7 separate regions of the Homo sapiens genome follow, and all the other regions are linked to region 1. Evidence: promoter capture Hi-C in 16 types of primary human blood cells and fetal thymus (Javierre and others, 2016). All regions are on one chromosome and are shown on one strand. The core of a region is centred on a gene start or on the middle of the fragment in contact, and the rest is flanking DNA. Distances in the headings are between cores, read along the strand shown.

What was found. Contacts are between HindIII fragments. The CHiCAGO score rates a contact against its expected background, and 5 or more counts as called.
Region 2: a contact is called between a fragment that was not itself captured here and the fragment with the promoter of ZNF684 in region 1, in 1 of 17 cell types (naive CD8 T cells). The highest score is 7.5, in naive CD8 T cells.
Region 3: a fragment that was not itself captured here is called in contact with the fragment with the promoter of ZNF684 in region 1 in 2 of 17 cell types (total B cells and naive CD4 T cells); the score reaches 5.2 in total B cells.
Region 4: a contact is called between a fragment that was not itself captured here and the fragment with the promoter of ZNF684 in region 1, in 1 of 17 cell types (fetal thymus). The highest score is 5.7, in fetal thymus.
Region 5: a fragment that was not itself captured here is called in contact with the fragment with the promoter of ZNF684 in region 1 in 3 of 17 cell types (total CD8 T cells, naive CD8 T cells and total B cells); the score reaches 5.4 in total CD8 T cells.
Region 6: a contact is called between a fragment that was not itself captured here and the fragment with the promoter of ZNF684 in region 1, in 2 of 17 cell types (endothelial precursors and megakaryocytes). The highest score is 5.6, in endothelial precursors.
Region 7: a fragment that was not itself captured here is called in contact with the fragment with the promoter of ZNF684 in region 1 in 1 of 17 cell types (megakaryocytes); the score reaches 5.7 in megakaryocytes.

The regions. Positions count from the first base shown.
Region 1 is chr1:40,530,079-40,532,925 of GRCh38, reverse strand. ZNF684 (zinc finger protein 684) reads right to left here and starts at 1,289. Exons shown (of 5, transcript NM_152373.4): 1 at 1,139-1,289. LOC124904149 (a long non-coding RNA gene) reads left to right here and starts at 1,380. Exons shown (of 2, transcript XR_007066022.1): 1 at 1,380-1,438; 2 at 1,571-2,348. RefSeq lists an enhancer at 1,195-1,489. The HindIII fragment of the contact is 2,309 bases long and covers 127-2,435 here.
Region 2 is chr1:40,060,828-40,063,674 of GRCh38, reverse strand. CAP1 (cyclase associated actin cytoskeleton regulatory protein 1) reads right to left here. Exons shown (of 13, transcript NM_006367.4): 4 at 1,863-1,940. Among named protein-coding and RNA genes, the nearest start is that of CAP1, 22 kb to the right of the region's middle. The HindIII fragment of the contact is 3,835 bases long and covers 1-2,847 here.
Region 3 is chr1:40,077,442-40,080,288 of GRCh38, reverse strand. It overlaps PPT1 (palmitoyl-protein thioesterase 1), which reads left to right. Exons shown (of 9, transcript NM_000310.4): 7 at 1,631-1,729. Among named protein-coding and RNA genes, the nearest start is that of PPT1, 18 kb to the left of the region's middle. RefSeq lists a silencer at 1,486-1,535. The HindIII fragment of the contact is 2,165 bases long and covers 195-2,359 here.
Region 4 is chr1:40,980,819-40,983,665 of GRCh38, reverse strand. It overlaps CTPS1 (CTP synthase 1), which reads right to left. Exons shown (of 19, transcript NM_001905.4): 2 at 210-388. The coding sequence starts at 375. Among named protein-coding and RNA genes, the nearest start is that of CTPS1, 2.5 kb to the right of the region's middle. The HindIII fragment of the contact is 1,428 bases long and covers 645-2,072 here.
Region 5 is chr1:40,098,397-40,101,243 of GRCh38, reverse strand. No RefSeq gene overlaps it. Among named protein-coding and RNA genes, the nearest start is that of PPT1, 2.6 kb to the right of the region's middle. The HindIII fragment of the contact is 1,194 bases long and covers 809-2,002 here.
Region 6 is chr1:40,953,877-40,956,723 of GRCh38, reverse strand. No RefSeq gene overlaps it. Among named protein-coding and RNA genes, the nearest start is that of CTPS1, 24 kb to the left of the region's middle. The HindIII fragment of the contact is 430 bases long and covers 1,134-1,563 here.
Region 7 is chr1:40,127,804-40,130,650 of GRCh38, reverse strand. No RefSeq gene overlaps it. Among named protein-coding and RNA genes, the nearest start is that of PPT1, 32 kb to the right of the region's middle. The HindIII fragment of the contact is 4,148 bases long and covers 1-2,847 here.

The DNA of each region.
Region 1 (2,847 bases), core at 40-2,539:
TAAGGATGTTATATGTTTCTGTCCTACTGATCTAGCACCAAGTGGTTCCTCTTGAAACAGTTATTTTTTTTCCTCCCAGAAATTTATCCTGAAGAAATAATGAATGAGTTGACTCACTTAAAAGCTTGGTCTCTGAAGCTCCGTAAGTCTAAAAATGATTCCTTCCTGTGATTCTCTGGTTTCTACTCTGACGCTGGGATAAGAGATTGCAAATTAGGTTGGGCTTTCTTGAGAAGGCTGGATTCAGGGACCCAGGAACACTTTTTTTTATTTTTTTTTTGTTAAGCTGGATCCTTCAGTTTAAACTCCAAATGTTTCTCTCTGTAGAAACTCGCCATCTCCTATGAGCTTAGAACTGCTGGGGCTCTAGAAAGGGTATAATGGGCAAACCGGGGACTCACATCTTCATTTACACAGTCTGCACTGGAAGATCTGCAGATACACCAAGAGACTCTACAAAATGACTACAAATCGAAATTTACTCAGCATTCATTGCTCAAACATTTCAGGAGAATAAACCCAACTCTGTTTTATGCAGGAATGCTATACTGTAAAAAAAAAAAAAAAGAAATTTGGAGAAAATGTATCTGAGTTTGAATCTCAGTTCTTCCACTTACTAAGCTGTGTGAGTCCAGGCAAGTAATTTCACCTTTCAGCTTCAGTTAACTCATATGCAAAATGGTAATAGCATTTACTTCAAATGATTGCTGAGAATACCCTTCTAATCCATAGCAGTTTCTCAAGAATGCTTTCTTCCTGGATCCCTTGAAATAGCTTACAGTTTCCACTGGATCCCTTGACACGGCTTAAAATTGTCGCAGGCTCCAGTCGGGCCAACTATGCTCTTGGAACCAGGAAAGGTACAGTTAGATGAACAGACTCCTACATAGTGACCTTGACCTACAAGAGCAGGAATGCAAATTGAGCCTCTCCCAGTCCCACCAGAGCCCTGGACATCTACCCAGTGCCAGTCGGAGCCCAACTCTTGCTTTCTCTCAGCTACTCGAGTTGAACAGGACCCACATATCCAAACCTGAAGTCACTGCGCTTGGAGACTAAAGTTTTATCTTCGGTAGGGTAAACCTAGAAGCCAGTCCCCGCCTTTCTCTTACGTCCTCCGAGTCCAGCAAAGCCATACCTGCCACCCTTTCACTGCCTCGCTCGCAGCTCCGGCTCCAAGCCTGGGATCAGTCACAGCGTCGTCCAGAGACAGGGGAGCAACACCCGCCCGCACTTCCCGCGGCGCTGATTTGAAGATTGAATACCGGCTACCGTCCTACTACGCGTGTGCGGAAGTAACTGTCCACCTAGAGTTCCTGGACTCCTCCCGGGTGTAGGCCATCCGTCGGAGACCACATTTCCCATAAGGCCAGTGGAGCTCGTTTCCGGAAGACGTCAGACGCTGCTTCCTCTTGGGGGGTGGTGCGGAGATTCCCGGGTTGGTATCTCTATTGCTAGCCTGAGAGCCACGCTTTTTAAGTCGTTTTCATTTAAAAGGATACACAGCATTTTTAAATACTGGAAAGTAAAATCGGCGGTATGCTAAAAACAATTTGCTCTTACTCAGCAGGGTTTCTTCTAGCAATGCACCAGGTTAAGTCGGAGAGGTGAAGAGGATCCAACAAAGAAGACTGAGAAGGAATAATCCATGAAGTAGATGGAAAAGTAGGAGAGTTTAGATCTGCAAAACCAAGGGAAGGAAGTGTTTCAAGAAGGGAGTGACCCATTGTCTCAAATGTTGCTCATAGGTCAAGTAAAATGAGAATTAAGAATGGGCCACTGTAGCAATGGTCACCAGTGATGTTGAAACGCCATTTTGGCAGTGGTGGAAGTTTGATAAAGTCTGATGAAAATTTGATAGGAGTTGGAGGGAAGGATGGGAGGAGAGGAAATGGAGAAAGCAAATATACGCAATACTTTTAAGAAGTTTTGTTTTTAAGGTGAGCAGAAAAATAAGGCTATCATGGGATAGGGATTTTGTTAATCTTTTGTTGTTGCGTTTTTCCACGTTCTAATTTTTTTTTTTTTTTTAATTCAAAGATGGGGCTGAGTGTGGTGGCTTATGCCTGTAATCCTAACATTTCAGGAGGCCAAAGTGGGAGGATTGGTTGAGCCCAGGAGTCTGAAACTGCCTAGGCAACATAGTGAGACCCTCATCTCTACAAAAAATAAAAAACTAGCCTGGCATGGCACCCGCCTGAAGTCCCAACTACTTGAGAGGCTGAGATGGGAGGATCGCTTGAGCCCAGACAGTAGAGACTGCAGTGAGCCGTGATCCCGCCACTGCACTGCAGCATGGGCGACAGAGCTAGTCTCTGTCTCAAAAAAATAAAATAAAAAAGATGGAAGAAATTATAGTAAGTTTATGTACTAATTAAAAGGATCTAGGCTGGGCGCAGTGGCTCACGCCTGTAATCCCAGCACTTTGGGAAGCTTAGGTGGGCAGATCACCTGAGGTCAGGAGTTGGAGACCAGCCTGGCCAACGTGGTGAAACCCCGTCTCTACTAAAAATACAAAAATTAGCCGGGCGTGGTGGCAGACGCCTGTAAACCCAGCTACCTGGGAGGCTGAGGCGGGAGAATCACTTGAACCCGGGAGGCAGAGGTTGCAGTGAGCCGAGATCACACCACTGCACTCCAGCCTGGGCGACAGAGCGAGGCTCTGTCTCAAATAAATGAATTAGTTAATAAAATAAAACAAAAGATCCAGTAGAGGCGGGAAATACACAATTCAGGATAGACAGGCTAGTTACTCGGAGGAATGTCCTTGAGAAGAGAAGGGATGGAATCCAGTACACAATCACAGGGATCATTCTAAGTAAGAGTATGGATAATTCATCTCCATTG
Region 2 (2,847 bases), core at 113-2,612, 470 kb after region 1:
TTGCCAGCCATATAGTAGCTGCTGTAAAGAACTGATGAATCAAATGCAATTAGGGGGCTTAGTCTGGGCATGGTGACCCACGCCTGTAATCCCAGCACTTTGGGAGGCCAAGGCAGGAGAACTGCTTGAGACCAGGAGTTCAAGACAGACTGAACAACACAGCACAACTTTGTCTCTACAAATAATAAAAAGAATTAGGGCCAGGCATGGTGGCTCACGCCTGTAATCCCAGCACTTTGGGAGGCCAAGGTGGGCAGATCGCTTGAGTCCAGGAGTTTAAGATCAGCCTGGGCAACATGGGGAAACCCCATCTCTATAAAAATACAAAAATCAGCTGGGCATGGTGGCGCATGCCTGTAGTCCCAGCTATTCAGGAGGCTGAGGTGGGAGAATCACTTGAGCCTGGGAGGTGGAGGTTTCAGTGAGCCGAGATCCTGCCACTGCACTCCAGCCTGGGCGACAGAGAGAAACTCCATCTCAGAAATAAATAAATAAATAAGTAAGTAAATAAGCAAGCCAGGCATGGTGGTGCACACTGTAGTCAAGGCTACTCAGGAGGCTGAGGTGGGAGGATCATTACACCTGGGAGGTCAAGGCTTCAGTGAGCTGTGATTGCACCACTACCCTCCAGTCTGGGTGACAAAACAACACCCTGTCTCAAAAAAAAAATTTTTTTTTAAACATAAATAAAATAAAAAACAATTAGGGGCTTAGCATTCAAGTAGGCACCTTGGCAAAATGGATGAATTTTGTTTGTGTTTGCACCCTTCCTCCAAAGCTCCATTTCCTGAACATCTCAATTCTCAGATCTTAACCATTCAGGACAGATTAAGAATTAAAATCTAATTCTACATATTAGAATTAGATGGCATCTATACACACACACACACACACACACACAATGTTTTTTGAGAGAAGGTCTTGCTCTGTCGCCCAGGCTGGAGTGCAGTGGTGTGTTCATGGCTCACTGCATCCTCAAACTTTCAGGCCCAAATCTTCCTCCCATTTCAGCCTCTCAAGTAGCTGGGACTATACGCATGCACCACCTTGCCTGGCTATTTTTATTTATTTTATTTTTTTAATTTTTAATAGAGACGAGGTCTTGCTATGTTGCCCAGGCTGGTCTCAAACTCCTGGCCTCAAGTGATCCTCCTGCCTCAGCCTCCCAAAGTGCTGGGATTACAGGAATGAGCCAGCACACTTAACCAGAATCTAATATATTTGACATTATCTTGCACTATTTTTATATTATCTAGGCATGCTGAGGGTCAAGGGTTTTAATACAGCATTTAGGACAACTTGCTTTATTATTCCTCTGTAACTAGGAAAACCAAATGCAAAAGAAGGAAACCTATATTCTTTGACTCCAAGAGAAATCTAAATTTTCTCTAATTCAACTTTTCACATCTTGCACCATAAAATTTTGAGGTGGGAGTAAAATTAAAGAGAGAGTCTCCCAACCAGTGAAGGATGAGGAGAGAAGCAATACTGTAGGAGTTTTAAGATCTCCACAGGAGCACTACTAAAGCCCATCCACAGTGAAGCAAGAGAATCATCTTTAAAGGGCTTTGGAGACACTATGATGAATGTGGACTCAGCAAAGAGGCAGGCAAGCAAAGTCCCAGGGATAACCACAGTCCTATGCAAAATGACAGAGAAAAAGCCAGTAGAGACCATTAAGTACCCAATAGTACCTTCCCATTAAGGCACTTGAAGTATGGCTCTACCTCTGGGACTTGGTATGAACATATATTATCAAAAGCCTAGTAGGTCTATTTTAAAATGTTATAATAGCTTGACATAAATCTCTCAACTCGTCCTGAGCATCAAACCAAAATGAAACCAGCTAGTAGTGAACTTACTTCTGCTGGCTGTTGACACTGAGAAGCTGTAACCAACAGAGCTCGCTCCAACTTCAAACCTGTGTGGACCATCTCCGCCTGCCAGAAAGAAGAATCAGCTATTGATGACACATTATAACTAGAGAAGTCTTGATAAGAATAACCTGAAACCTCTACTTCCATGTACTCTGATAGCAACCCAGGCACTTCATGTTATCCTCCTCATGTATTCCAGATTCCAGGGACTGAGAGCAGAATTACATACACTACTGTTCCTATTGGAACTCATCAGGGATATATATCCAGAGTTGGAAGTGAAGTTAATTGGATAATCACCTAGCTTACATGAAGTCATGTTAGCATCTTACACATGCATTGTGATACCGTGCACTGAAAAATCCTTCCTATTTCACATCAGCAAAATAAAACAAACAGCAACCAAAAAAACACCTTTCTTTTCTCAAAAATTGGAGACAGGAGTAAAGGCAAAGGCCTAAATTTCTGCTGAAAATTCTCAAGGTATTTACTCCTTTAGATTAAAGCTATCTCTCAAATGCCAGATACCATGACCCATTAATAAATAATTAAATCAATTTAGTGAGCTTAATGGAACAAAAGTATGAGTGCAGTGCACCAACTTCAAGTTATTTCCAAATAAAAAGTTAAAAAAAAAAAAAGTACAGCAGAAGTAGTATAAATATCATCTTGTGAAACTTTTATCTCAGTTACGAATATGTTCTTTCTTTCTAAGGGTCATTCGCAGTCAAAAGAATTTAAGAAACATGAGACTGTAAGCACTATTAAAATACAAAAATTCAAAGAAAGCAATCTATTTTTTCTGGATTTGCATTTTTAAAATACAAATGATAAATGTTTTAAAGTTTTTTCAAATGTTACAGAACTGTATTAAGTAAAAATGCAAGCCTCCACACCCTTATTAAAGTCCCAGTCCCACTCTCTAGAGCTAAAACCATTGGCAACAGATGGTATTTGAGAGGCTCAAAAT
Region 3 (2,847 bases), core at 28-2,527, 450 kb after region 1:
GGAAAGAGAAGTTCTGTTTTTTTTGGGAGGCAGGGCCTTTGAGATTCAGTTCCCTTTAGGGAGGTTGAAATTCATTTGCCTTTCTTCCCTTAAGTTCTTTCCCTCTCCTAGTGTTGAAACACACAGGATAAGCTCGGCAGGTTGCTGACTGGGCGAGGTGGAAATTCACAGCTGCTGTCTTAATGAGGGAAGCTTTCCTGATGGATCAGTCTGGGGGTGGATTTTTCTCTAGAGATTTACCTAAAAGAGAGATACAGTAGGCACTGAGTATGTCCCAGACACAAACATGGTTTGGTAGGTTCTGGTAAACTAGATGGCTCAGTTTATATTTGACTCATCTGGAGAGTCTTTTGGTTTTTTGTTTTGAAACAGTTTGAAGGGAAAAACAAACCAAACAAAAAACAACACAGAATAGTATATAGCAGAACGACCCAGAATTTGCAGTTTCTTATTTTGTCTTGGCTTTCTCTGACTAGAAGCCTCTCACCTATGTGATGGACACCTATGGAGTGTGGTGTAAACTCATAGTTGTACCTGTATGCCATGCTCAGTGGCATGTCAGTCAGATAGGATGGTAAGAAAAGCCTATAGAAGGCCGGGCGTGGTGGCTCACGCCTGTAATCCCAGCACTTTGGGAGGCCGAGGTGGGCAGATCACTTGAGGTCAGGAGTTCGAGACCAGCCTGGCCAGCATAGTGAAACCCTGTCTCTACTAAAAATACAAAATTAGCTGGATGTGGTGGCGATCACCTGTAATCCCAGCTACTCTGGAGGCTGAGGCAGGAGAATCGCTTGAACCTGGGAGGCAGAGGTTACAGTGAGCTGAGATGGTGCCACTGCACTCTGGCCTCGGTGACAGAGCGAGACTCCATCTCAAAAAAAAAAAAAAAAAAAAAAGGAAAAGAAAAGGCTGTGTAAGCAATCCCGTGACTGGGTATATACCCAAAGGAAAACAAATTGTCCTGCCAAAAAGACACTTGCACTCGTGTTTATTGCAGCACTGTTCACCATAGCAAAGACATGAAATCAACCTAGGTGCCCATCAGCGGTAGACTGGATAGAGAAAATGTGGTACATATACACCATGGAATATTACACAGTCATAAAAAAGAATGAAATCCTGTTCTTTGCAGCAACATGGATGCAGCTGGAGGCCGTTATCCTAAGCAAATGAACACAGAAACAGAAGACCAAATATCACATGTTCTCACTTATAAGTGGGAGCTAAACATTGGGTACACGTGAATATAAAGATGGGAACAATAGACACTGGAGACTCCAAAAGCTGGGAGGGAGAGGCTAGGGCTGAAAAACTTCCTGTTGGGCACTGTGTTCACTATCTGGGTGAAAGGATCAACAGAACCCCAAACCTCAGCATCACACAATATACCCTTATAACAAAACTACACATGTACCCCCCTGAATCTAAAATAAAATATTTTGTTTTTTAGAAAAAAAGAAAAAAAAAAGCTGTACAGGTATATCCTGGTCAGGAAGCTGGAAAACAGCCCATACCCATGGGGAAGAAACACAGTGGCACAGGGTCAGGGAGACCAGAAAACAGGAAGGCTTTACTCCCTCTGCTGGTGTCTGATGGTAATGACCTTAGGTGTTGCTGGCCTTTCTTTCAGGGTATCAATGAGTCCTACAAGAAAAACCTGATGGCCCTGAAGAAGTTTGTGATGGTGAAATTCCTCAATGATTCCATTGTGGACCCTGTAGATTCGGAGGTGAGACACTACTTAGGCCACATGCCAGGAGAGTAAATGGCATTAAAATAGGGCTGCTGGCCGGGCACGGTGGCTCATGCCTGTAATCCCAGCACTCTGGGAGGCCAAGGCGGGTGGATCACCTGAGGTCAGGAGTTCAAGACCAGCCTGGCCAACTTGGTGAAACCCCATCGCTACTCAAAATACAAAAAGAAATTAGCCGGGTATGGTGACAGCCATCTGTAATCCCAGCTGCTTGGGAAGCTGAGGCAGGAGAATTACTTGAACCCAGGAGGCAGAGCTTGCAGTGAGCCAAGATCGTGCCACTGCACCCCAGCCTGGGTGACAGAGCGAGACTCTGTCTCAAAAAGAACATAAAATGAAATTGAAATGAAATGAAAAAATACAGCTGCCTGCTGGGGAAAAAACCTTCAGTCCCTTCCACCAACTTTTGTATAAAACAGTTCTTCACCTGAGGTCCATAAATGGGACACTGAAGATTGTAATCAATCCCCCAACCCCAAAATTCTATGCAAAATTATGTAATTACATTCTCTGGGGAAGGATCTATAATTTTAATCCATTTTCCAGAGATCAGAGACCCAAAAAATGTTCAGAATCACTAGCCCAAAATATATAAATTCCTAAGCTTGGCCTCCAAGGTCTGCCTTGATCTGGCTTCACCCCATTTTCCAGCCTAATCTGCCTTGTCTGCACGCTTCATACACTCTTGATCAAGCCATATTGTACTACTTGTGCTTTTTCTCTCGTATGCCTTGGTTCATATATTTCTGTCTCTAGAATGCCCTTCCTTGGCTTCTCCACCTGACAATTTCTATTCGTCTGTCAAGGCAAGGATGCCATCCCCATTCCAAGCAGAATGTGATCGCTTTTTTAGAATCATCAGCCTCTGTTAAAACACTCATCACGTTATGTCACACCACCAGGGATTGGCCGATTGTGGCCCACAGGCCCAGTCCATCCTGCTACCCGTTTTGGTGCTACCCACGAGTAACACCAAACACTAACATAAAAGAATGTTTTTAACATTTTTTAATGGTTGGGGGAAAGAATTGGACATATAAAGATTATGTAAAATTTATTTAGACATATCAAGTATTTGGACATATAAAGATTAT
Region 4 (2,847 bases), core at 109-2,608, 450 kb before region 1:
GAGGGACAGAGTGGGATCCTGTCTCAAAGAAAAAAAAAAAAAAAAAGAATTCTGCTTCTTCCTTTCTAGGTGAGAAAAGTATCATTCTGCTGTATTAAGGGACCTGTTAGAAGGCAGAAAATAAAAGTTATGCAAACCGTGCACATAATTCCCAAGTGCTGACATGTTCTGCCACATGCAATTATTATGAAGAAATCCACTGTGCTTACCATGCTCATAAGGAGAGAATGTTCCTGCATCAATGTTAATGTAGGGGTCAATTTTGATTGAAGTTACATGTAAACCACATGACTTGAGTATTGTGCCCACACTGCTGGCAATGATTCCTTTTCCAATTCCTGATATAACACCACCAGTAACCAGAATGTACTTCATTTTACTCTTTGACCTGGAAGAAGGAAAAATTACAGATGATATAAATGTATCTCAACAAACCAAACTCATCTGGGTTCAAACACTGGCTCTGCCAATTATTAGCTATGAACCCTCTTGAAGCCTCAGTTTCTCTGTCACAGGACTTCAGAAGGTTCTCGTCAGGTTTAAATAGGATCAAAACAAACATTTCTTGGATCACTGAATGGCTTTAGTCAAATACGTGTAGAAAAACAACTGCTACTCTAATAACACAGCTTTTGTTTAAAGCTTTGACAACTAATAACCTTCAGAGTCAACCTAATAAAACCAGCTCTAAGCTGGCTGATAGAACACTACACCCCAAATGTTTGCTGACATCACTGCCAGACACTGGGATACCAGGCAGGTGCCTCATTATTTTCCCTACATGGGAAAAAAATTCAAACTTGGATAAGTACTCCAGTTCTCCAGGAAATAAATAATGTCTTTGGCTAAACTACAACATATCATCAAGAAAACACAGCTCCTCTAGGTTACAAAAGATAGACTAAAAGGAAAGAACATCAACATTTAAAAGTGGTTGCAGCTAAACCAAAATTCCTTTAATTAAAAGTAGTTCTCTGGCTGGGCATGGTGGCTCATGCCTGTAATCCCAGCACTTTGGGAGGCAGAGCCAGGAGGATCACTTGAGGTCAGGAGTTCGAGACCAGCCTGGCCAATATGGGGAAACCGCATCTCTACTAAAAATACAAAAATTAGCCGGCTGTGATGGCGCACGCCTGTAGTCCCAGTTACTCAGGAGACTGAGGCAGGAGAATCGCTTGAACCCAGGAGACAGAGGTTGCAGTGAGCTGGGATCATGCCACTGCACTCCAGCGTGCGCGACAGAATAAGACTACCTCAAAAAAAAAGAAAAAGTAGTTCTCTTCTATAATTTAACAACAACTTGCTCCTTGTCAGAAATCTCTCCCAGGCATGCAATGAAGAGAGACTGTAAATACTGGGGGAGAGGGACATCAGATAAGAAACCAGTCTGAAGCACATGACGGGCAGAGGACTCAAAGAGAGGGGAGATGAGATTAAATCCAAAAAGCAGTGCCACGGTGGCAGGGAAAGGAGAAATAAGATATAAGGGCAGCAGAGTCAAGATGCAGGTGAAAACAGCATCGACAAGAGGTGAGGAGACCGTGACAGGCTCACCACGGAGGATTTATCACTGGTCCCCAGCTTCAGAGGTCCAGGATCGTCCATTTGGTCAGCAAACCCAAATGTGACCAAAATGAAAAACACAATTAGAAAGTAGCAGAAAATGCTTACTTTGGCATGGTCAGGACATTTTCCTCCTCAGGAACGTTCCATGTGAAGCCAAATTATGATAAAAATAAACTAAGGAACAAGAAAACTAAGGAGTTGTGCTCGAAGCATTCCCCCGCCCCACCCCCTCCCCAGAGCAAGAAAGAACACACTTGGCAGGGAAGGAAGAATGCTCAGAAGTCTTCCCCGCTCCAAAGGCTCTTTGCATCCTCTGCTGCAGCATTTCCAAAAGCATGCTCCCTGGTTTCAACAAAATGCACATGGGATTCTCAAAAAGGGTGTTATGGATATAAATCAGAGAAACGCTGATTAAACCAAGTCATTTAACGCAAGAATCCTGGGAGTGTTTAGCAAGTAAACTCGCACTGTGATCACTGCTATACAGTATGCGGTGTCTCCAAGCTTATCTGACCCTAAGTCTCTCACTTTACAGTTCCTTATTGACACATGAAAATCAGTCTTAGGTACATTTTAGATATGTTCTAACCAGACATATACCTTACTGAGACTATACCCTGGTCTCCCTAAGTTTTGGATGATCCTAGAAATTCCTCTGCCACCGAGTGAGTTACTTCTACAAAAGATTCATCTCATCCAATTACATTTGATTTGTCCCAATTTTACTCTAAGAGTTTAACATCTCTCTTTACGTTCTTTAGTTTCTCTCTTTAGATTCTTGCAGTCTCAGTGCCTGGCAATACATATGCCAGTGTACATAAAGATCAGGCGGGAGGCTCATTCATTCATCCTTATGGGCTACTGACTTACATGACAGCTACTGTGCTTGGGGACTGCAAACATTAATCAGATTTGGGCCCATATCTCAACTTTCTGGCAGTCCAGTTGGAGAGATGAAACATTAACAAATAAATGAGTAATTCAGTGACGGTGGAAGCAGACAGAAAACATGTTTAGACTATAAAGGGGGACGATGAGAGCAGACGCTTTCAGTACCATGGCCATCAGAGGAAGGTGAGACAAGTCCTGGGGGTAGTGGGCGGATCCAGGCGGCTCCTGTTTTGTAGATATGACTTGCAATGGGCCTTGAAGGACTGACTGCACGACTCAGAGCACAGGAAAGGGAACAGGGTGAACAGGCAGGTGCAGGGCAGCTACAGAGAACAGAGGTAAGGCCGTGAGGGGGAAGGCGGGGAAGCAGGGATATACAGTGGAAGATAA
Region 5 (2,847 bases), core at 156-2,655, 430 kb after region 1:
TTCTTTCTTTTTTTTTTTTTTAAGATGGGGTCTCGCTCTGTCGCCCAGGCTGGAGTGCAGTGGCTCGATCTTGGCTCACTGCAAGCTCCGCCTCCCGGGCTCACACCATTCTCCTGCCTCAGCCTCCCGAGTAGCTGGGACTACAGGTGCCTGCCACCACGCCCGGCTAATTTTTTGTATTTTTTAGTAGAGACGGGGTTTCACCGTGTTAGCCAGGATGGTCTCGATCTCCTGACCTCGTGATCCACCCGCCTCAGCCTCCCAAAGTGCTGGGATTACAGGCGTGAGCCACCGCACCCAGCCTCTTTTTTCTTGGCAATGCTTTGACCTTTCAGTGATAATGTACAAATATATAAATACACAGATGTCTTCTTTAAAAAAAGAACAGCTTTATTGAAATATATTCCACATGCCATAAAAGTCACCCATTTTATGTGTACAAACCAATGATTTTTAGTAAATTTATAGAGTTGTACAACCATCATATATGTATGTACATAAATACATAGTTATTTTCTTATGCCCTGTTTAACTTACTCTCCCAGTTCTAAAATGTACTTACCTACTTACCTATGCCCACAGCATGCCCACATGGCTAGAGGCTGCTTTTCAGAACTCTTGGGTAGTTCTGTTCCTGTCAATTGAGCTACTTGCTTACTAAATGCCTTTGGGCTTATTTTATTTATTTATTAATATATCGGTGATATTTGCTATCATAATTTAGTTAAATTTTTGAAAACATGAAATATGAGCATAAAGAGAAAAGAGATGTTTCTGTGAAAACTAAGTTGAATGCATTGGAAAAGCTTGTTAAAGGCAAGTTGTTAAAAAAAATTGTTAAAGTAACTCTGGGTCGGAAATCTGAGAGTGGAAAGTCTTCCATCTAGAATAATTTCACATCCAAACACTGTGGCTCACACCTGTAATCCCAGCACTTTGAGAGGCTGAGGCGGGAGGATCCCTTGAGCCCAGGAGTTCCAGGCTGCAGTAAGCTATGATTGTGTCACTGCAGTCCAACTTGGGGAATAGAGCAAGACCCTGTCGCAAAAAAAAAAAAAAAAAAAAAAAGTCATCATAGCACTATTCATAATAGCAAAGACATGGAATTAACCTAAGTATCCATCAACAGTAGACTGGATAAAGAAAATGTGGTAGGTATACACCATAGCATACTACACAGCCAAAAAAGGAATGAGATAATGTCCTTTGCAGCAACATAGATGGAACTGCTTAGGTCATTATCCTAAGCAAACTAATGCAGGAAAACAAAACCAAATACCACATGTTCTCACTTATAAGTGGGAGCTAAACATTAAGTACAGATGGACACAAAGAAGGGAACAACAGACACTGGGGCCTACATGAGGGTGGAAATGAAAAGTTACCTATTGGGTACTATGTTCATTATGGCAGTGACAAAATAAAACGTACACCCAACCTCCTTGACATACAACTTACCTATATAGCAAACTTGCATATGTGACCCTGAATCAAAAATAAAAAACAAAAAGAATGTTGGTCTGGCACAATGGCTCACAGCTGTGATCCTAGAACTTTGGGAGGCTGAGGGGGGCGGATTGCCTGAGCTCAGGAGTTCGAGACCAGCCTGGGCAACATGGCGAAACCCTGTCTCTACAAAAAACACAAAAAATTAGCGGGGCATGTTGGTGGTGTGTCTGTAATCCCAGCTACTCGGGAGGCAGAGGCACGAGAATCGCTTGAACCCGGGAGGTGGAGGTTACAGTGAGCCAAGATCACGCCACTGCACTCCAGTCTGGGGGACAGAACAAGACCCTGTCTCAAAAAAAAAAAAAAATTGCATTCAGATTGCTTCACAAGTGTCTTTCAGTTATTGCTCCAGTTTAAAGAAACCTTTAAAGAAATTATAAATAGTTCATTAAAGGCAGGAAACTTCATTGAGCGGGCTATATTCACAGAAAAATCCTGAAACTACTTCAATTTGTAAGTCTTAAGTTAAAATAAAATGCTTATACAATAAGCTTATTTTTCTTAAAACAAAACTGTATACTGTACTGTATAATGCTTTATGATTCTGCATTTTTTTTTCTTTGAGACAGAGTTTCACTCTTGTTGCCCAGGCTGGAGTGCAGTAGCTCAATCTTGGCTCACTGCACCCTCTGCCTCCTGGGTTCAAGTGATTCTCCTGTCTCAGCCTCCTGAGTAGCTGGGATTACAGGCACCCACCACCATGCCCGGCTAATTTTTTGTATTTTTAGTAGAGATGGGGTTTCATCATGTTGGCCAGGCTGGTCTCAAACTCCCAACCTCAGGTGATCCACCTGCCTCAGCCTCCCAAAGTGCGCCCAGTGGATTCTGCATTTTAATCGACTTTTCAACTAACAACTTACCTCTAGTCCCAATGGCATGGAATAGAAGAGATTACAGACCGTGGGTTTGTAATCGACTTTTCTTTTACAACATATTAAGGGCATTTTTCATGTCACTTTATGTAAATTTACCTCATTTTTCTTTTTTGAGAGAGACAGGGTCTCACTGTTGCCCAGGGCAACAGCGAGATCATAGCTCAGTGCAATGGCGAGATCATAGCTCAATGCAGCCTTGAACTCCTGGGCTCAAGTGATCCTCCCACCTTAGCCTCCCCAGTAGCTAGGATTACAGGCACATACCACCACCCCTGGCTAATTAAAAAAAAATTTTTTTTTTGTAGAGATGGGGTCTTGCTATGCTGCCTGGGCTGTACTCTCTTTTTATTTATTTTTTATTCTTATTTTTTGAGACAGAGTTTTGCTCTTGTTGCCCAGGCTGGAGTACAATGGTATGATCTCAGCTTACCGCAACCTCTGCCTCCCGGGTTCAAGAGATTCT
Region 6 (2,847 bases), core at 99-2,598, 420 kb before region 1:
TAGTCAGACTATTCTGTGGAGTGTGGGACAATGTGGCCATGACAAAGTCTTTCTGGCGGCAAGTGCTTTGAATAAAATCTTAACCACCAAAATAATTATTACCTAATTCAGGAAGTTCATAGAGGAAGCTATCTAACAGTGTTCAAATATGTTTTGGCTCTTGTCAAATTTTGAGTAGTTGAATAGGTCAACATGCTTGTGGCTCATTTATGGCATGCCAGTTAGAAAGCTCAGTCCTAACTAATAGAAATAGGGTTTCCAAGACAAAATATGTTATGTGGTCAAATAATTTTGGAGAATTCCATGCTAAAGTTAAAATGCACATTGCATGCTGCAGGAATTCTCAGAACCCTTAAGATGCCAGTGCCCGCTGTGATTTTTTTTTTTTTTTTTTTTTGGCCTTCAAATGGAAGTGGGCAAGGCACAGAAACATGTAGTTTCACGTAAACACAAATGCACAAAAAACATATAAAAATACTCAACCTCACTCATAACTCATATTCACAATAAAACAAGATAGGCCGGGTGTGGTGGCTTATGCCTGTAATCCCAGCACTTTGGGAGGCCGAGGCGGGTGGTGACACCTGAGGTCAGGAGTTTGAGACCAGCCTGACCAACATGGTGAAACCCCGTCTCTACTGAAAATACAACAATTAGCCGGGCGTGGTGGCGCGCGCCTGTAATCCCAGCTATTTGAGAGGCTGAGGCAGGAGAATGGCTTGAACCCGGGAGGCGGAGGTTGCAGTGAGCCGAGATCGCGCCATTGCACTCCAGCCGGGGCAACAGAGTGAGACGCCGTCTCAAAACAACAAAAACCGAAAGAAAACAAGATAGGATTTGTCACGTGGAAGATTGGCAAACTGGAAAAAGCTTTATAACGTCCAGCGCATTTGAGTGGGAACAAGTGCTCTCACAGAATGTAGGAGGCTGTGTAGATCTATAACTCTTTGGAGGAAGTATTGGTTAGGGATGATGCCCACTGGCATGTAACAGAAAGCCAGACTTCATCGAATAGGGATTTGTTAACTTTCAAAAAAAGATATTAAGTCTAGAGACAGGCGTCCCAGGCTAGTGCAGCCTCTCTGCAACATCACCAGGGTCTCAGGCCCCTCCACCATGCTTAGTACAAAGCTTTTACTCTCACATTTGCCTCACTGTGACCTCATGGTTACAAGATGACTGCTTTACCCCCAGCCTCGGGTTCACATTCCAGGCAAAAAGAAGGGAGTGGCAAGGAAGAAAATGTGGTGCCTCTATCAGGAAATGAATGCTTTCTTAGGTGCCTCCAGCTGACTTTTATCGACATTTGAGTATGTGGAACTGGCCGCCCCTAGATGCAAGGAGAGCTGTGGATTTTTTAGCTCAGCACATTGCCTATTTGAGTGAAATCAGATATTGATTTACCTGATCTGGCCTCAGCTGACTATCTCTTCTCTTACGATTCTACTCTGACTTCTGTTCTTCTACCTCACTGACTTTCACAGGTACTGTTAGCATTTTACCCAGATCCTTTTAAGATCCCCTTTTCCTTCATGTTGTGTGTGCCCCCAACTTTGCTAAGCTTTTTCTCTTAACATTTAGTACTTAGTACCCAACACCTAGTACCTAGTACCTATGGCTCTTTGGATAGGGCGCTACTGGAGCCCACTTTGCCCAGAGGAAGTGCCTGAGAATTTACTTGAAAAAGCTCCCTGGGATGACCCTAGCCAGATGTTAATGGGAGGAGAGTTTGAAAGTCTCAGCAACCTTGCCTTAGGTTGGAACAAACACTGAGGTGTAACTTATATGCCAGAGCTCCCCTTCCTACCCGACTCTACCTTACCCCACCCCGCCCCACCCCCGTGGGATCAGGGTGAGACTACCTTCCTCCGGATTTCGCATGAAATCACACGCTTGCTTGGCTTCCTCCTCTTCCCTGCCCTGCTTCCCCTACACCCTTGCTGGTTATTCCCCACCCTACCCCTAAGGGAGCACTAATCAATCACTTATACAGGAATCCTCTCAGAGTCTGCTTCCAGATCGCCTGACCTAAAACACCAGCCAACTTGCAGTTTCTAGAGCATGCTAAGCACGTTCCTATCACAGGGACTTTGCACGCTGCAGGAATACCTCCCCCCAGACACATGCACGGTTCACATCTGCACTTTGTTTGTGTCTTTGCTCAAATGCCACCTTATCAGTGAGTATTTTCTTTTTTCCTTTTTTTTTTTAGACGAGTCTCGATTTGTCGCCCAGGCTAGATTGCAGTGACCCTATCTTGGTTCACTGCAACCTCCACCTCCGGGATTCATGTGATTCTCCTGCCTCAGCCTCCTGAGTAGCTGGGATTACAGGTGTGTGCCACCATGCCCAGCTTATTTGTGTATTTTTAGTAGAGAAAGGGTTTCACCATGTTGCCCAGGCTGGTCTCGAACTCTTGACCTCATGATCCACCCGCGTCGGCCTCCCAGAGTGCTGGGATAACAGGTGTGAGCCACTGCGCCCGGCCATCAGTGAGTATTTTCTTAACCACACTGCCTGAAATAGAACCACTCCATCAACTTCTATCCTTTACCCTGCTTAATTTCTCTATGCAATTTAGCACAGCTTGGCTTAACAGTATTTAATACACAGTATTTTGTTTATTGTCATTCTCTCCTACCATAATATAAGCTCAGAGGCCAGGAACTTCGTCTTGTTTTATTCTCCTCTGTATCCCCTGCACTGGAATTGATTAATGCCTGCCAGAAGAAAGGCCTTGTCCGGGTGTGGTGGCTCATGCGTATAATCCCAGCACTTTGGGAGGCCGAGGTAGACGGATCACCTGAGGTCAGGAGTTCGAGACCAGCCTGACCAACATAGAGAAAC
Region 7 (2,847 bases), core at 145-2,644, 400 kb after region 1:
AAATTTTGAGACTCTCACTTCCTGATTTCAAAACCTACTACAAAGCTACTATAATCAAAACAGTGTGGTGGTAGTGTAGGAATGACATATAGATCAGTGGAATAGGAATGAGAGTTCAAAAATAAATTCTCCTATTATGACCAATTCATTTTTGACAAGGGTGCCAAAACAATTCAATCAGAAAGATAGTCTTTTCAACAAAAGGTGCTGGTACGACTGGATATCTACATTCAAAAGAATGGAAATGGGGAGTGACTGACTGATAATGGGTACAAGATTCTTTTGGGAGTGATTACAGCATTCTAAAATAGATTCTGGTGGTGGCGGCCCAACTATGTATACTAAAACCCACAGATTTTACCCTGTAGGTGAATTTTATGGTATATAATTATATATCAATAAAGTTGTTTTAAAGCATGTCAGATGTCACTCCTTTACTTACAATTCTCCAAAGGCTTTTGATATTATGTAGGCTAGTTGTTCTTGACAAGGATCAGAGGAGAGGAGGATTTTTCTCTAGGGGAATTTAACAATGTCTGGAGACATTTTTGGCTGTCACACTGGCAGGGGACTACTAGCGTCAAGTAGGAAAAGGCCAAGGATGCTTCATTTTTTTTTTTTTTTTCTTGAGTCAGAGTCTTGCTCTTGTCACCCAGGCTGGAGTGCAGTGGTGTGATCTCGGCTCACTGCAACCTCCACCTCCCAGGCTTCAGCAATTCTCGTGCCTCAGCTACCTGAGTAGCTGGGATTACAGGTGTGTGCCACCATGTCTGGCTAATTTTTGTATTTTTAGTAGAGACGGGGTTTCACCATGTTGGCCAGGCTGGTCTCAAACTCCTCACTTCAGATGATTCACCTGCCTCAGCCTCCCAAAGTGCTGGGATTACAGGCATGAGCCACCAGGCCCAGCCCCAAGAATCCTTCTTAATATTTTACAATGTTTTGAGCTAGGCAATCCTCTACAAAAAAAGATTATCTATCAAAACGTCAATAGTGCTGAGACTGAGACATCTTGATCTAGAGAAAACGCAAGGTCCTTACAATGGCCTATAAAGCTCTACCTACTCTGGCTCTGGCTGCCTCTATTGTCATCCCCCTCCACTCCCCTTATTGCTCACTCTCCTTCAGGCACACTGGCCTAGTCGCTGTTTCTCAAACACACCAGGCTCACTTTTTCCTTGGAGCCTTTGCATGTGTTATTCCTCTTGCTTAAGAGCCTCTTCCCCCAATGACCACATGGCTAAATCCCCTATCTTTTTTCAAGTCTTCGAACAAGTGTCCCTTCTCAATGAGACCTACCTTGACCATCCTATTTAAAATTACGACACTCCTGGCCGGGCGCGATGGCTCACGCCTGTAATCCCAGCACTTTGGGAGGCCGAGGTGGGCAGATCACCTGAGGTCAGGAGTTCAAGACCAGCCTGGCCAACGTGGTGAAACCCCGTCTCTACTAAAACATACAAAAATTAGCTGGGCGTGGTGGCAGGCACCTGTAATCCCAGCTACTCGGGAGGCTGAGGCAGGAGAATTGCTTGAACCCAGGAGGCAGAGGTTGCGGTGAGCTGAGATCGCGCAGCCGAGATCACGCCATTGCACTCCAGCCTGGGGAACAAGAGAGAGACTTTGTCTCAAAAAAAAAAAAAAATTACAACATTCCTGTAGTCACTAGCACTCCTTCCTGTCCTGTTCTATTTCTTTTTTTAAATTCCCTGTTACTTATTGCCTTAGAATCTATTGCTTACTTTGGTTATTTAGCATGTCTATTGCTGTTGTCTGTCTTCCCCAAGCATCACAAGGGTCCTCATCTGTTTTGCTCACTGACTTGTCCCAGTGCTTGGGATACTGTAGCTGTCAATAAATATTTATTGAATAAGTTGAATGAATACACTTGATTATTTCCAAAGCCTTTAAAAACATATAGGCATTCACTATTCAATATCTATCCCAAATTTCCAAAAGACATTTTAAAACCAAGTATTTATTAAAAATCTAAATTATATATTGTAAATTATACCTAATAGCACTTTCTTTCTTTCTTTCTTTTTTTTTTTTTTTTGAGATGGAGTCTCGCTCTGTCACCCAGGCTGGAATGCAATGGTGAGATCTCGGCTCACTGCAACTCCTGCTCCCCATGTTCAAGCGATTCTCCTGCCTCAGCCTCCTGAGTAGCTGGGATTACAGGCATGAAGCCACCACACCTGGCTAATTTTTGTATTTTTAGTAAAGGCAAGATTTCACCACGTTGGCCAGACTGGTCTCAAACTTCTGACCACAGATGATCTGCCCACCTCAGCCTCCCAAAGTGCTGGGATTACAGGTGTGAGGCACTGCCCTCGGCCAATAATACACTCTTAACTCTAGACAAGACTTTTTGAAAATTCATGGATTAGTCTCTTACACTCCTGACATCCTCCATCTCTGACTTTAGTTTTCAGTTTTTGGTTGAGACAGGTCTTGCTCTGTCACCCAACCTGTAGTGCAGTGGTGTGATCGTAGCTCATTACAGCCTCAAACTCTTTGGCTCAAGCAATCCTCCCATCTCAGCCTCCAGAGTAGCTGAGACTACAGGCATGCGCCACTATACCCAGCTTTTTCTTTCTTGGCGGGGAGCAGGGGTAGATACAGGGTCTTGCTTTGTTGCCCAGACTGGTTCTCAACTCCTGGCCTCAAGCAATTCTCCCACCTCAGCCTTCCAAAGTGCTGGGATTATAGGTGTAAGCTGCCACACCTGTCCGCTTGAGTCTGAGAGGCAGAGGTTGCAGTGAGCAGAGATCACACCAATGCACTCCTGCCTGGGCAACAGAGTGAGACTCTGCTCAAAAAAAAAGTAAGATAACTTAAGATTAT